Linked DNA regions of Homo sapiens: region 2 is linked to region 1. The links are contacts of gene promoters, found by promoter capture Hi-C in blood cells and fetal thymus (Javierre and others, 2016). All regions are on one chromosome and are shown on one strand. The core of a region is centred on a gene start or on the middle of the fragment in contact, and the rest is flanking DNA. Distances in the headings are between cores, read along the strand shown.

Region 1 (3,082 bases), core at 369-2,868:
AATTAGCTGGGCATGGTGGCAGGCACCCGTAATGCCACCTACTTTGGGAGGCTGAGGCAGGAGAATCGCTTGAACCCAGGGGGCGGAGGTTGCAGTGAGCTGAGACTGAGACATTGTACTCCAGCCTGGGCAACAAGAGCAAAACTCTATCTAAAAACAAAAAACAAACAAACAAAACAAAACAAAAAAAGGACAATGTATATTTGGGAGCTAAAGTTCATTTAGTTTGTTTTAAGTCCTGATTTCCAAGATCTGAACATGGTTATTGGCCATCCATGCTTTTTAATACAGGATTTGTGAAGTTGTTGATTCGGAAGGTAACCCACAACATCCTTGGTTTCAATTCAGAAGCCACACAGCAAAAAACCCCTTCAATTTGTCCTTAGTTGATATAGAGTTATAAAACATATCACATATCTCTGGAATGACCATTCCTGGTTAATTAATCTTTAGAAATAAAGGCTACCTTTACTTAAGGAAAAGGTTGTGGAAAGAAAATAATTAGAGCAGAAGCAGCTCTAAATGCCGTTCTTGCTTTTATCTATTTTTAAATGATTGCCAAATGTCTGTAACTGACACCCTTAATCAAGGCTTTTAAAGTTTAGATGTGTTCATTAAATTGTAATGTGACAGTGGTGGCATTTAATTGATGGATTTTTTTTTGGCTGACTTTTTGCCTTAAATTTTTTTTTAAATCTATTTAACAACTCGATAAATGTTTACATCAGCCATTTTGAAAAGCCTGATAGCTTTTCAGCAAATTGCATTACCTGTTGTCAGACAATATACTCCTGTGTCTACCCAGATAGGAGAGATTTTCAATCATTCAGTTAATTCACAGTAAAAGGAATAACTCTTGACTAAAATACTCAAATATTTCAGACAAAAGTCTCTGGGGCCTGAGTTACCTGGATAGTTGACTTTTTATGTTGCTTTGCAAAACTTTACATATCACTCGTTTGAGTCATTCTGTATATTTTTTCTAACTGTTAAGATAGACATGATGTGAAAGAAACTGTTTTCATTCATTATTGTCAAGCCAAAATAAGCAAATTTAAAAATAGCAATAATTTTCAAAAAGGGTCAAAATGGACTTAAATTACAAGACCATGAGAGTTTGCCCACTTTAAAACCTTATATGCCCAAATATCCCATATAATCCCTATTGGTTTCATCTCATTCTATTTCATCAGGAAACCATCTGCTTTGTTCTTTGTTGCAGAAAATGTAAACAACTATATATTGAAAGCACAGCCATTCCTTATGTAAAAACCAAAGTCTACATACTTACTTTTCAGTACTCTTTGTCCAAGAAATGTTGTAGGAGGGCTGGCTCAGCTGTGGATTCCCCAGGCTGTGTGTGAGGCATTGATTGGGTGTCCCTGTTCCCGGGACAGGGATTCAAAGGAGTTTATAGGGCTCAGGGTCTTCCATGATCAGGTCAAAGCATAGATGGGTCTGCTTCCAGAAAGTTCATCTCTTCCTAAGAGGGGAAATTCCATGCCCGGGGAAGTTCTGGAAGAAGAGCATTTTTTCCCCGCCCTTCAGTGAACTAGGTCATTGCTGAAGCTGGAGAATATATTTTAGCATCCCTGTGATGAAACTTGAGGGCTGTTTCTGCAGTAGGTGCGACACTTGTTGACACGACACGCTGGGGAGGCCCTGGCAAGGGGGCCTGGTGAAATGCAGCCCCAGGGAGCTGATGAAACCCAGACGAGCTGTCACTGGCTGCTGCTCAGGAGACCGAGCAGCTCTTTACAAAGCCCATGCTGGACCCTGGGCTTAGTTGCTCGCTCCTTAGGAAAGGAAAAACTTGCTGCCTGATAAAGGGATTAAGGCCGGAGTAACACAACCAGTTCTCATACCAAGGTTATCAGGCATTTGAAGTACACATAGGAAACCCGTGGAGGGGGTGTTGGGGAGGTGAAAATATGTGTCATATGTTGTTCATTTAGAACAGGCATTATAGCCATCCTCTGAAGTTCTCTGAGAAAGGCAGAAGCCACAGAAGGAAGGCAGGATCCACCCTCCTCACCCTGCTTACCCCCCCTTACCCCTTGTCTGTCTGTCTGTCTCTCTCTCTCTCTCTCTCACACACACACACACACACACACACACACACACCCCTTCCTATTTTGACTACGATAGAAGAGAACAGACAAAGATCAGAAGAAATCCACAGAAGAAATACCACAGGTCCTATTCCTTCAGATTGCCTGGAATGGTTCTTGTTGGGAAAGTAGATTTTGTAATATGGGCAATTCTTTTATTGAAGTTTATCCAAGTCCAAAAACATAGAGAATCCTTTAGCATCATTCTGTAACTACTTAGCCTCTCCCCAAAAATATTTTAATGTATGACACCTGGAAATTGACAGCTTAGACAGAAACCTCTTTTGAGACTCGTGGAGACAGCTCAAATTAGCAGCTCCAGGGGTGACTTTGAAAGGGACATAGCTGTAAATATTCACTCTGTGTAGGGCACTGCAATCCTCAAAAGCAAATTGTTTTTACACAGCACAGAATGTACATCATTATCCCTTGATGGAATGCAACTTTTCACAAGATGAAAACTCATCTAAAACGATAAAATATTAAGAAATGTAGGGGTGATATGTTCTGTTTTTCAGTTTTATCTTCATGTGAGAAAAAAGATATTAAAGCTGAGGCACTGTAAAATAATGACTATCTCCTGGGGAACACATCTGTGAAATGCCACAGAACACAGAAATTACCAACTCTTTGCAAATGGTCGGCTTTATGGAAAGCTGAGGTCTTCACAATGTAAGGTCTTTTCCAGATAAGAAAGAGGAGATAACTTCAAGTTGGGAATGAAGAGAGGAGGAAAGTGTGATGATAAAGAATAAACAAATGCTGTCGCACACCACAGAGAGAATAAAGTCAAAAGTGAAGGAATGTCCCAAAGCAATAGATAAATGTGATATGGTTGTGAAAGAAGTGTTGCCTGGGAGTTATTAAATGGAAAAGTTGAAATTCACTATGAAACTTAATTTTGTTCCTCTGAAATAATTTGAAAAACCAATTCCCTCAACTCCCAACATTCATCTCCTAGCAAAATAAAT
Region 2 (3,082 bases), core at 340-2,839, 580 kb before region 1:
CCTCAGCCTCCCCGAGTAGCTGGGATTACAGGCGCCCGCCACCACGCCTGGGTAATTTTTGTATTTTTAGTAGAGATGGAGTTTCACCACATTGGCCAGCTGGTCTTGAACTACCGATCTTATGATCCGCCCGCCTCAGCCTCCCAAAGTGCTGGGATTACAGGTTTGAGCCACCGTGCCCGGTCTAAAGACTCGAGGTTTGAAAGGGTTGAAAAACCTCAGTATTGAAAGAATGGACAGAAATCTGACTTTTAAATAGTCCTCCATAAATAGTTCTCATTGGGGGTTTTGTGGCCTGTAAGTACTGTGGACTTGACGGCTCAAGACTTCTAGAGAAGGCTTCTGAGTAGGATGTTGACTCCATGGGGCTAAGTCGTCAAAGGAAACCCATTCTACGGCACAGGTTTTAAGCCAGTCATGCTGCAGGAAGGCAAAGGAGAGCTTAAGGTAGCATGGGTGGGCTCTTTTGAAAACGAACTAGCAGGGCGAACAGCAGATATTTAGTTATGTAGCTGGCAACGAGGAATATGATTCCTTCGGGTCACGCGAGTTCTCTCTGAACTTCCTTGAATGAAAATCCTAAATGCATCCTGGTAATACCCAAGTAGGCACTTTGACGTTTCCTTTTCAAAGGCAAATGGAATGTTCTGCGTCTGTTTTCTTTTTGAACTCCCAACTGCACTTAACATCTAAATTTAAGGAAAGGCTTCCGAAAAAGTCGACTGACGAATTTCTTTCACTTATTTAAAGTAGTCTCTTGCAGTCCTATAAATCGGAAGGATTAAATGAACTGCTTGCTAGAGAAACGGTAGCTGGGTGGTGGGAAGAATCCTACGGTGGCTAATAAGACGTCTCGATCATTTGCATATGCAAAGGATAACCTTAAGCTTGAGTTTGATATTTCACGTTGCGGCTCACAAATGAACTGCTTTTTATTCAAAGAACCATGCTGTCTGTTTTCGCGTGGGTGGGTGTGTAACCGGGGCGGGCGCTATGTTGGTTTTGTTCCCTGCAAGGTTGACACAGGCAATGGCGACTTGCGGCCACACTGGGGCAGCCTCTCCTCGGCTGGCAGCCGGGCCGGGCGGCTCGCTCCCGGGAGCTGACAATGTAGCCAAGTCCTGCTCGTCGGGGCCGCAAAGAATTTAAAGGGGTCTAGAAACATCCATCTTTTCCCCTTTTCACAGTTAACAGCGAGCTCAGGGCTCTCGGTAAAAAGACCACCGGGAGGAAGAAACGCTCAGGGCGTTTTTGTTATTGTTCGCAAAATCCTCTATCGCCCCCAAACGTCCAGCCCGCCCCCTCCCTAAAGCGGAGGGAAACCGGGAGAGGAGGGAGGGTCGGCGGCGCCGGCCAAGCGCGCCAGTACACGCCCCTGCGGATCCGCCCCGCGGCCGGGTGACCCCCGCCGCGCCGCGCTGGAGGCCCCGGGCCGGGGTGGGCGTGGGGCTGAACTCCGCCACCCCCGCAGCCCGCGGCCCGCTCGCCAGCCCGGCCTGTGATTGGCTTGGGGGGCGCGTGTGCCCGCCCCGGCGAACGGGGAGGGTACCCTCGCGGCGCCGGTGGGAGGAGGCGGAGGAGGGGGCGGAGAGAGCGGGGGCCCGGACGGCGCTAGCGAGGAGGCGGGCGAGCCGGGTCCCCGGGAGCGCAGAGGAGGCTCGGAGGGGGGCGGAGAGCGGCGGGGCGGGAGGGAGGCGCGGGTCGCGGGGAGGGAAAGCCCGGCCGGGTCTGCGCCGCCGCCGCGCGCAGTGAGAGGCGCCGGGGCTGCCGCCCGGTGCTCGGCGCGCTCTCGGGAGCCGCCCGCCCGCTGGTCCCGCAGCCTTCCGGGAGGAAGCGGTGCCGGCAGCGTCCAGGGCGCGCTCTCGGGCACCCTCACCTGCCGGCGCCCGGCCGCTTACCCGGCAGGGCGTGCGCAGGGTAGGGTGCGGGACCGGGGGGACCTGGAGGCAGAGGGGAGAACCGGCCGTCCGCGCCGCAGCACAGCCGCTGGGAGCGCCTCAGACCCCGCGCGGGGCGCCGGCTCCATGGCGACCGGGCTCGGGGAGCCGGTCTATGGACTTTCCGAAGACGAGGTGAGTGGCACCCCCTTCCTGCTCGGGACTCCCCGGGGAGTTCCTATCCCGCGCCGGCAGGGGGAGGGGAAAGGGGCCGTCCCCGGGGTGCTCGTGCCCAGCGTCTGCAGGGGAGCCCCAAAGCGGGAGCGCCCCGGAGCGGGATCCAGGGGAGCTTGGGTCCTTCCGCACCCCCCACCCTCCGCAAGCCGAGCTCATTGTTTGTAAATAAAGCGGCGCGACGCCCTTGGAGCTGGGGGTTCACTCCGCAGCTCCTCGCTTTCGGGAGGAGAGGGAGGGGGCATGCGTGCCTCTCTTCCCTCTTCCTCTCCAAGCAGCGTCTCCCGGGGCTGTTGGGCAACTTTCCGCCTCTCGCCCCTGCAGCCCGGGAGTCCATGATGCATGTCACGTCTGGGTCGCGCGGCTGGAGACCCGGGACTGCGGAGAAGCCGGATCGTTTCCCCCTGGAACTTTCTCTCTCATGATTGTGTGGATCAGCAGGCGCTCAGAAGCCTGTGCGTGCTTATCCCGGCGGGAATGGGGGACACGCTGCGTGTGTCCCTCCCCTCGTTTTGCAAAGTCTACGGCCAGGATTGTGGATTTCGGAGCCTCGGTGGGGGAGGTGTTCAAGGCTGGTGGCAGGTGCTCCTGGAAACTTGGGGAGGAAGCTTGCAGCCCTGCCATTTTTTCCTCCCGAGGATTCAAAGCCCGGCACCTCCAGGGTGGGTGGGGAGAGGAAAGCTTAATTGATCTCTTTTATTAATAAAGCGACTGAATAAGCCACGCCTCCCAGGCGGTCGGTTTCACTGGAAAGGGCTTTGTTTTTACCTTCATTCTCTCTTCCGTGTCTCCCACTCCCCCCTTTTGAAACAATCCTGCTAAATCACTGCCTAGTCCTCTCTCGACCAGCCACGCTCGGCTCTTATTGGTATGTTGCTCTGCCAAAAAGGGGGGTGGGACGCTTGTCGCGGGCGCGGCGTGACAGGCAGGCTGGATGGAGCAGGTAGGAGTGGTTTGCCATCTGGCGGGGT

The links. The method cuts DNA at HindIII sites, captures the fragments that hold promoters and counts their contacts. A CHiCAGO score of 5 or more calls a contact.
Region 2: a contact is called between the fragment with the promoter of NEDD4L here and the fragment with the promoter of ALPK2 in region 1, in 5 of 17 cell types (total B cells, naive CD8 T cells, activated CD4 T cells and 2 more). The highest score is 7.3, in total B cells.

The regions. Positions count from the first base shown.
Region 1 is chr18:58,627,473-58,630,554 of GRCh38, forward strand. ALPK2 (alpha kinase 2) reads right to left here and starts at 1,619. Exons shown (of 13, transcript NM_052947.4): 1 at 1,292-1,619. RefSeq lists an enhancer at 1,636-2,178. The HindIII fragment of the contact is 8,777 bases long and covers 1-3,082 here.
Region 2 is chr18:58,042,637-58,045,718 of GRCh38, forward strand. It overlaps NEDD4L (NEDD4 like E3 ubiquitin protein ligase), which reads left to right and starts at 1,590. Exons shown (of 31, transcript NM_001144967.3): 1 at 1,590-2,072. The coding sequence starts at 2,025. RefSeq lists silencers at 1,285-1,654, 1,675-2,224. The HindIII fragment of the contact is 1,832 bases long and covers 886-2,717 here.